Linked DNA regions of Homo sapiens: region 2 is linked to region 1. The links are contacts of gene promoters, found by promoter capture Hi-C in blood cells and fetal thymus (Javierre and others, 2016). All regions are on one chromosome and are shown on one strand. The core of a region is centred on a gene start or on the middle of the fragment in contact, and the rest is flanking DNA. Distances in the headings are between cores, read along the strand shown.

What was found. The method cuts DNA at HindIII sites, captures the fragments that hold promoters and counts their contacts. A CHiCAGO score of 5 or more calls a contact.
Region 2: a fragment that was not itself captured here is called in contact with the fragment with the promoter of GLS in region 1 in 1 of 17 cell types (total B cells); the score reaches 6.3 in total B cells.

The regions. Positions count from the first base shown.
Region 1 is chr2:190,878,286-190,882,862 of GRCh38, reverse strand. It overlaps GLS (glutaminase), which reads right to left and starts at 2,042. Exons shown (of 18, transcript NM_014905.5): 1 at 1,393-2,042. The coding sequence starts at 1,778. It overlaps LOC124906110 (a long non-coding RNA gene), which reads left to right and starts at 875. Exons shown (of 2, transcript XR_007087791.1): 1 at 875-950; 2 at 1,295-4,577. RefSeq lists enhancers at 565-754, 1-1,118, 2,515-2,654 and silencers at 1,075-1,384, 1,445-1,534, 1,585-1,644, 1,985-2,244. The HindIII fragment of the contact is 8,795 bases long and covers 1-2,552 here.
Region 2 is chr2:197,507,334-197,511,910 of GRCh38, reverse strand. All of the region lies in intron 2 of HSPE1-MOB4 (HSPE1-MOB4 readthrough), which reads right to left. Among named protein-coding and RNA genes, the nearest start is that of MOB4, 6.4 kb to the left of the region's middle. The HindIII fragment of the contact is 5,819 bases long and covers 1-4,577 here.

The DNA of each region.
Region 1 (4,577 bases), core at 793-3,292:
GAGAGAAGTACAAATTTAACAGAAGTATAGCTTTTTAGAACTTGAAAGGATTTAAGTCATCTAACCCAAGATATTAAATAACCTGTCCATGGTCAGGACGCTATTTTGTGGCACAAAACCAACATCACAAAATACCACAAATTTCGCCCATCATCAAGTGATTTTTTTCAAATAATCTTTTTCAGTCTGGGAGAAGAACTTTAGAAAAGTTTCTGGAAGGTCCCAACTTCAATTACAGGAAAACATCAAGCAGGCGTGAGATTGAAATTATAACAATGTTCTCACTTTCAGTTTGACTTAAGGAACTCTAGAGCTGGAAATAGCAGCAGAAATAAAAGGGAAGCAAAACAGGTTAGAGTGTCAGCGTACAAAGCCAGAAAAAGAGTAAGGTATAATGAAAGCAGATCCGTAAATTTTTACCCATTTTGGGAAAACAAAGTGGTCCATTTGTATTACACAAGACAAAAATATATAGGAGACTGCTTTGCATATTGTTTAAGAAAAACCAGTTTTGCTTTAAGACTAAACTACTGTGCCGTACACATACAGGATGAGTCAACATCCTATCACAATGAAGTCACAAAACCTACTCAACTCAGATTTTTCACTGAGTTAGTGTATTACGTCACATTTCATCTTGGCTATTTAACTTTTATTTCTAAAAATCTCCCCATCTCACGGAAGACCTGACAAGCCAAAGCTGGTCCCTTATGCAAACAGGTGGTCTATACTGCGTGCCCCATCTTCTCGGCCACATGACCGGATTCCTCCTAATCTCACTTCTGAAACATTGTTTCCGGTGCCCCAGATGGCTCTACACGTGCCTGAGGTAGCCACTCCCGAAATATAAAGAGCTCTCTGTCACATCTGGCTTCCAACCGGATGATGGCAGAAACCAAGGGAGGGCAGGCAGAGCGGAAACGAGCCAGGAAAAGCGACAAGTCAGGAAGGTAAAGGCTCTGCTGAACGCCCAACTCCTAAATGTCACTCGGTGGAGATGTTCGTGCAGCATCGCCCACGAATGGCTGGGGCGGGCGGCCAGGCGCTGCAGCCGCAAGCCAGGGAGCTGAGCACGCAGCGCGGGCAGGGGAGCGGCCTCTCTGGCGCTGGGGACGCCAGGCGAGCCCATCAGGCCCCACCGCGGCCCCACCAGGGCGACCCCCGCCGGGGGCGGAGAAGGGAAGTGGGTGCCTGGCGGAGGGTTGCGGGCGGGGAAGGCGCGGGCGGGGCCGGGCCTAATCACATGGCGCAGACGGCGCAGGCCGCCCGGCACCTCTTTCTTTCTCTTTTCTAGACCCTCGGCTCCTATCCCGCCCCACCGCAGGGCCCCACACAGCCTGAGCCCGGGCCCCGAAAGGAACGAGGCCTCCTGCGCCTCGCGGAGACACTCACTTTTCACCTGAGGCCACCAGCTCTTTGCCCTCGCTGTTGCCAAACGCGTCCGTCTCCCCGGGGCCGTCCTTGGGGCCGGGCGCCGCCGGGGCAGCGGGTGGCGACACCCCGGGCTGCGGATGCGTGCTCCCCTTGCCCAGCTCCTGCAAGATCTCCGAAGGAGAGCTGGACAGGCCCCGCGCGAGGGGCTCCGCCGGCCAGCCGCCCCCGCCCCACCACGGGTGGAGTCGCGCGGCGGCAGCCGGGCCCGCGGCCGGCCGTCCCCCGCCTCGGGGACGCCGGCACAGGGTGACCAAGGGCTGTGCCCGCCGCAGAGTCGCGCTCACGCCGGCGGGCGACCGCAGGAGCAGGTCCCGCAGCATCCCCGAGCCTCGCAGCCGCATCATGCCGCCGGGTCCGTCAGCGCCCGCTCAACAGGGGAGGATGCTCCGGGCGTGGGCGGCCGGTTTCCTCGGGGAACGCGGTCTGTGGTGGGGCGGTGAGATGACAGAAGAGGAAAGGGCAGCTACTTGGGTGTGGTTCCGGCTCGGACTCCCGCAGCGGATGCGGGTGCTGCTGCTGCTGCTGCTGCTGCTGCTGCTGCTGCTGCTGCTGCTGCGCGCTAGGATTGCCGCGACCGGTTCTCTTCGCTCCGCCTAAGGCTCCGCACTGAGGCTAAAGCGCAGGGGAGGGCTAGAGACCTTCAGCGCTCGCCGACGGCCCGCCCCTTTCGCCCGCTGCGATTGGCTCAAATCCTCGACCTCTCTTTTGATTGGCGATTAGGGCAGTCAAATTTCTCTCGGCTCTGGGTGCGCGGAGAGTAGGGCGGGGGATTGGTGGGGGGCGGGGAGAGGAGTCAAACTGACGTGTGAAGCGGGTGAGCCAGGCCCGGCTGCTCAGTAGCCACTTTCTGCACGCCGTGCCAACTCCGAGGCTAGCCTAGTTGGGTACTAGGGGCTCTGGGTTCTCGCATTTATGAAGCAGTGGGCTCCTCCACTCTGGGAATTCGAGCTGTTGGGGAGACTCATGGGCGAGATCCCCCGCAGCCGAGGGCAGTGAGGTCAGCAGGTTTGGCAGGGCTGAGTCTGGCCGAGCTGTCGGAACTCAGCCGATCCCAGCTCGCATCTGGCCCCCAGGTCAGGGCGTCTGGCGACTCCTCCGAGAGCAGCCCCGGACAAGCTTCATCCCTCTCCCAAATGTAACATTTGCTTGAAACTTTCCATGATTGGCTACTACCCAGACGTGAAGTGTTTTGGAAAAAATGAGCAAAATCCTTTCAGCTATGCGACTTAAGCCATGGGAGGGTGGAGGTGGAGGGAGGGCGACGAGTGGCGAGGCGGGGTGGGGGGGTTGCGGAATCCAGAATACGACAGCTTTCTTTTTTAAAAATTATTTTTTTTAAATGTACACCGATACTTCAAAAATAGTTTTGAATAGCAATGATTCCGTTAACGCTATTTGCTTGAAAGCAAAACTGTAGATACTTTTCTATTTTAAAAACTGCTTCACTGTTTTAAAATAGAAGCGTTGGAATACGGGTTCTCTAAGTTATTTCAGCATCACTTTATCCATTTATCCTTTTGGACCTGTGGAAAAACAGCCAAGAACCTGATAAACTGAGTTATTCCCTGAGGCTACATACACATTACATTCCAGGACAAAAAAATGTTTTTAGACTATTTCCTGAAACAATTAGGTTTAAATGGAGTAGATCCACAGAGTTTAATAAGATGTTTTGGGGGTTGGTGTGTTGTTACTGTGTTGTTGTGTGTGTTCGTTTTGAGAAAGGGTCTCACTCTGTCGCCCAGGCTGAAGTGCAGTGGCGCGATCACGGCTTACTGCAGCCTTGAACTCAGGGGCCCCGGTGATCCTCCCACCTCAGCCAGCACCTGCTTTTTTTTTTTTTTTTTTTTGTATTTTTGGTAGAGACGGGGTTTCGCCAGGTTGCCCAGGCTGGTTTCGAGGGATCTGCACCCCCTGGGCCTCCCAAATTGCTGGGATTACAGGCGTGAGCCACCACGCCCGGCCTAATGAGGTGATTTTTATGAAACTAGAAGGGTGTATGTCAGGTGCATCATTAATTGATAACCGGATTTAGTAATCTAGTGAACTGTAAAATATTTCAATAGATTAATAATTAGGAAATCTGGCTGTACCTACAGGTTATGTGACCTTTGGCATGTTACAGCCTTGCCGTGTTTTAAGTTTTTTTTTTCTATCTGCTCTTTAACCAGAAGAACATGGAAAAAACTATCATGTGTAAAACATAGTCACCTTTTTTATTTAAAAAAAAAAAAGCAGGACAATGGGAAAGTACTTAGATAGCTTTTATTACTAATGTTACTTGTCCAAAAATGTTGATGAATCAAAGTAATGATATATTCAGGAATAGAGACATCAAGTTTCAGAGGAAAGGTAACAAATATTACCCCTGCCTAACCCTGACTTGTTAATGACTTGCAGACTTTAATATTGTCCAATATATTAGCTGCAATTAGTTATCAATTTTAACTGCCTCTTTTTTCTCAACAACACAAAGCAACTGACAATCCAGTTACTGTTTTCCTCTCAGTTTCTCCCTTAATTTCTCTGAGTTTCTTATGAAAATTGTTTTAGATATTTAAAGGTTTAAAGGCTTTATAGTTCACTTAACAAATAAGAAAGCTAACCTAGTAACAGATTATTTTCTAGAGTTTCTAGTTTCTAGAGTTTTATTTTCTGGTAGTTTCCAGACTTTCTGCTTTTGGTGAGAATGGATAGATATTACTCCCAAAATTTGGAAGAATTGAGTCCACTGAAATTTAACCCCTTGTTTGAGAAGGCTAATGAAAAGGTTATAGACAGCAAAGAAACTATTATAAATAGAATAAAAATGTGACTCAATACTTTCATTTGATTCTTTTCTTCATCTTATATAATTTTTTAATCTTTAAAGATATTTTTATCTACAACTTTGTAACCATTACACAACTTTGAAGTTTCAGTTATGTTAAATTGAATTATATCATTACATAAACTCATGTAATCATCATGTAAAAAGTATAAAAACATTTGTATACATACAATAAGTAGTCCACCAAAATATCTACAAATAGAAAAATGCTCTCCACATTAACTATGGTTGGGTTGTCAGATCTACTCTTCGACTTCCTTTTTGCTCCTAAGTGCAGCTACACTACAAAGAGTTGCTGTCCCATAGCCATCAT
Region 2 (4,577 bases), core at 695-3,194, 6.6 Mb before region 1:
GCGTGATCTTAGCTCACTGCAACCTCCACCTCCCGGGTTCAAGCAATTCCCCTGCCTCAGCCTCCAGAGTAGCTGGGACTACAGGCGTGCACCATTATATTTTAGTAGAGACGGGGTTTCACCACGTTGGCCAGGATGGTCTCGATTTCCTGACCTTGTGATCCACCCGCCTCGGCCTCCCAAGTGTTGGGATTACAGGCGTGAGCCACCACGCCCAGCTTTTTTTTTTTTTTTTTAAGAGATTGTCTCACTTTGTTGCCCAGGCTGGTCTCAAACGTCTGGCCTCAAAGGATCCTCCTGCCTTGGCCTCTCAAAATGCTGGTATTACAGGTGTGAGACACTGGGCTTCACCCTTTTTCTTCCCCTTTGAGACAGTGTCTTATGCTCTCACCCAGGCTGGAGTGTAGTGGCATGATCACCACTCACTACAGCCTCAACCTCCTAGGCTCAAGTGATCCTCACTTCAGCCTCCTAAAGTGCTGGGATTACAGGTGTGAGCCACTGTGCCCAGTCTGTCTTTATTTTCTTGATAACACCAATCTGTATCTAAAATCATGCTATTAATTTAGTTGTTTACTGTGTGCTTCCCCGATCTTATTCATCCCTGTATATCCAGTGCCTAGAACAGTGCCTAGCCCATATTCAAAAAATGCGTGACTTAAAAATACTATAATAAACTAGCCTTTTGAACTGACATTCAAGCCAGGTAAGTAAATAACCATTGATGTTTTTCCAAGTCATGTCTTCAGGCTAAATGAGACTGAAAGGGCATTTCGCAAGCGAAATTTTAAGTGTCTTAAAGACTTAGGCTTAATCTATAAGATGGTAGGGGAATTTTAAACATTTCTTATATCTTTTAACAGGAAAATCTACAGATGGAGCCAAAATCAAAATCTGTTGTTTTTTTTTTAAAGAAAAACCCAAACTATAAAAATACCTAAAGAAACCGTGGAAGAAACTTTAAGTTTTGGAGAAGACTTTTCAGAGTTTAACGTCATACCCAGAAGGCATAAAGAAAAACATTTAATAATTCAAATACACCAAAATGACTTTCTACAAGTGCAAGGCATAAACAAAATCAAAACCCAAATGACAAACTAGAGGGAAAAAAAACACAAAGAACTAGTTTCTTTAATAAATAGAAGTCATAAAAGATCAAGCACTCAGTCAAAAAATAGGCAGAAGATATTAAGTGAATAGGAATAACCAGTTAACAAGGGTAAGCAAGGTGGCTCATGCCTGTAATCTCAGCACTTTGAGAGGCTGAGGTGGGCAGATCACTTGAGTCCAGGAGTTCAAGACCACGCTGAGCAACATGGCAAAACCCTGTCTCTACAAATATTAGCTGGGCGTGGTAGCATGCATCTGTAGTCCCGGCTGCTCGGTAGGCTGAGGTGAGAGGATCACCTGAGCCCAGGATGTCAAGGCTGCAGTGAGCCTCTGATGGTGCCACTGCACTCTAGCCTGGGCGACAGACAAGAACCTGTCTCAAAAAAAAAAAGAGTCTTAAACACATACAATGCTCATCCTCATTCATCATGATAAAGAGTAAAATTATCAGATTGGCAAAATAAGAACTTTATAACATCCTGCATTACAGAGAGTAAGAAGAAAAAAAATACATTGCTAGTAGGACTGTTAATTCATGGACCTTTTGGCTGGGCGCAGTGACTCATGCCTGTAGTCCCAGCACTTTGGAGGCGGGTGGATCACCTGAGATCAGGAGTTTGAGACCAGCCTGGTCAACATGGTGAAACCTCATCTTTACTAAAAATACAAAAATTAGCCAGGCGTGGTGGCGAGCACCTGTAATCCCAGCTACTCAGGAGGCTGAGATAGGAGAATCACTTGAACTTGGGAGGTGGAGGTTGCAGTGAGCCAAGATCGTGCCACTGCACTCCAGCCTGGGCAATAAGACTGAAACTCTGTGTCAATAAATAAATAAATAAATAAATAAATAAATAAAACTGATGGGAGTTCAATGAAGGACAACTTGGAGATCCATGTCTGTATCTGCGTACATGCATGATTAAAATTCACAGACCCTTTGACGTAGCAGTTCTATAGGAATTTATCTTATAGATATGCTTGTTCAAATGTACATATTTAGTTATGCATACATTTATTCATTGCAGAAGTGTTTCTAATAGAAAAAGGTTAGAATAACTTAAATATCTATCATTGCTGGGGGTGCATCCTGAAATAAATTATGGCTTATCCATATAATTGAACATTATACAGTCTTAAAGTGTCTTTATCTATAGATTAATCCCAGAGACCAATTGTTAATGTAAAAAAGCAAGGTGTCAAATGTTATGTATGGAATATTATTTTTTGAAAAAGAAAAAATGAATATATATTTTATATACATAAGATATGTACATATATAGTACACATTTACATATATGTGTATATACATAAAACACCTTAAAGGAAGAATACAAAAATTATACTAGTTACTTCCAAGGATGGGACTGGGTGGCTGGGGGACAAGGATAGAGAGCATTCTTTTCAGTGTCTATAATTTTAAATTTTTACATGAACATATTATTTATTTTTAAATAAATAAAAGTTTAACAACAAAATAACAGGCTTGACTCAAAACGTTAAGAGGCAAATCTAATGCCCTTGTTTTGCAGTTCATTCATAAGCTAAGAGGGGTTAGGTAATTTGTCAAATGTAGCAGAACTAGTATGTAAGCAACACAGGACAAGAGCTGGGATTGATTGGGCTCTCTCATAGAGGTTGCTTGAGAGTAAAGGAAAATATACTTAAGCTGGGTGTGGTGGCTCATGCCTATAGTCCCAGGACTTTGAGAGGCTGAGGTGGGTGGATCACTTGAGGTCAGGAGTTCAAGACCAGCCTGACCAACATGGTGAAACCCCATCTCTACTAAAAGTACAAAAAAAATTAGCCAAGTGTGGTGGCACATGCCTGTAATTCCAGCTACTCAGGAGGCTGAGGCAGGAGAATCGCTTGAACCCGGGAGGCGGAGGTTGCAGTGAGTCGAGATCGTGCCATTGCACTCCAGCCTGGGCAACAAGAGCGAAACTCCTTCTAAAAAAAAAAGAAAAGGAAGGGAAGGGAAGGGATTGGATTTAAATACTCGTCACACAAATAAGTCAAAAGTTCAAAACTCCATTTTTGTGTGGGTGCAGTGAAAACAGTAATTAACTTGCTGGAGGAAGCATGACTTGGTATAACACTGAAGAACAAGCTGGCGGCTCATATAGGAACAAAGAACATACTCTCAGGCAGGTGAATAGGTACAGGGAGGACTTGCCTTATCAGATGTCAAACTTAAATATAAAGCTATTTACATTGAAAGCAATGTGATGGAATAGGGAGGTCAATGGAACAAATTATTAAACCCATGAATAGGCATATTTAGAAATTTCGTATATGATAAAGGCAACATCTCTGATTTCTGGGCATAGAGAGAAGGGAGGTCGGGGAGTGGTGTGCAGGGAGAAGAATGGATAATCCAGTAAGTAAAGTTGTGACAACAAGCTACTCATTGATTAAAAAAATAAAGTAGTCCTAGCTTCTCTGGAGGGTGAGGCAGGAATATTGCTTGAGCTCAGGAGAGCAAAAACTGCCTGGAGAGCACAGTGAGACCCCATCTCTGAAAAAAGAAAGTCAGATACATACACCATTCACTAAAAAACAAATTGTGTACCTGTAATTCCAGCACCTTGGGAGGCCAAGCAGGGAGGATCACTTGACTCCAGGAGTTTGAGACCAGTCTCGGCAATATAGTGAAACCCAGTCTCTACAAAAAATACAAAAATTGGCTGGCTGCAGTCACTCACGCCAGTAATCTTAGCTCTTTGGGAGGCCGAGGCAGGAGGATCACCTGAGGTCAGGAGTTCAAGACCAGCCTTGCCAACATGGTGAAACCCCATCCCTACTAAAAATACAAAAATCAGCTGGGCGCAGTGGCGGGTGCCTATAATCCCAGCTATTCAAGAGGCTGAGGCAGTAGAATCACTTGAACCCGGGAGGCAGATGTTGCAGTGAGCCGAGATCGCACCACTGCACTCCAGCCTGGGCGACAGAGTGAGACTCCGTCTCAAAAAAAAAAACAAAAAACAAAAAACAAAAATTAGCAGGGCATGGTGACATGTATGTGTAGTCCCAGTTACTCAGGGGGCTGAGGTGGGAGGATCAATTGAACCTGGGAGGTCAAGGCTGCAGTGAGCCATGATAGCACCACTGCACTCCAGCCTGAGCACTAGAGGAAGACCCTGTCAAAAAATAAAAAATTACCCACGCGTGGTGACACAGGCCTGTACTTCCAGCTACTCTGGAGGCTGAAGTGGGAGGATTGCTTGAGCCCAGGAGTTCGAGGCTGCAGTGAGCTATAATCACACCACTGCTCTTCAGCCAGATAGACAGAATAGGGCTCTGTCTCAAAAAAAAGAAAAATATCCCAGCACTCCGGGAGGCCGAGGCGGCGGATCACGAGGTCAGGAGATCAAGACCATCCTGGCTAACATGGTGAAACCCGTCTCTACTAAAAATACAAAAAAATTAGCCGGGCGTGGTGGCAGGCGCCTGTAGTCCCAGCTACTCAG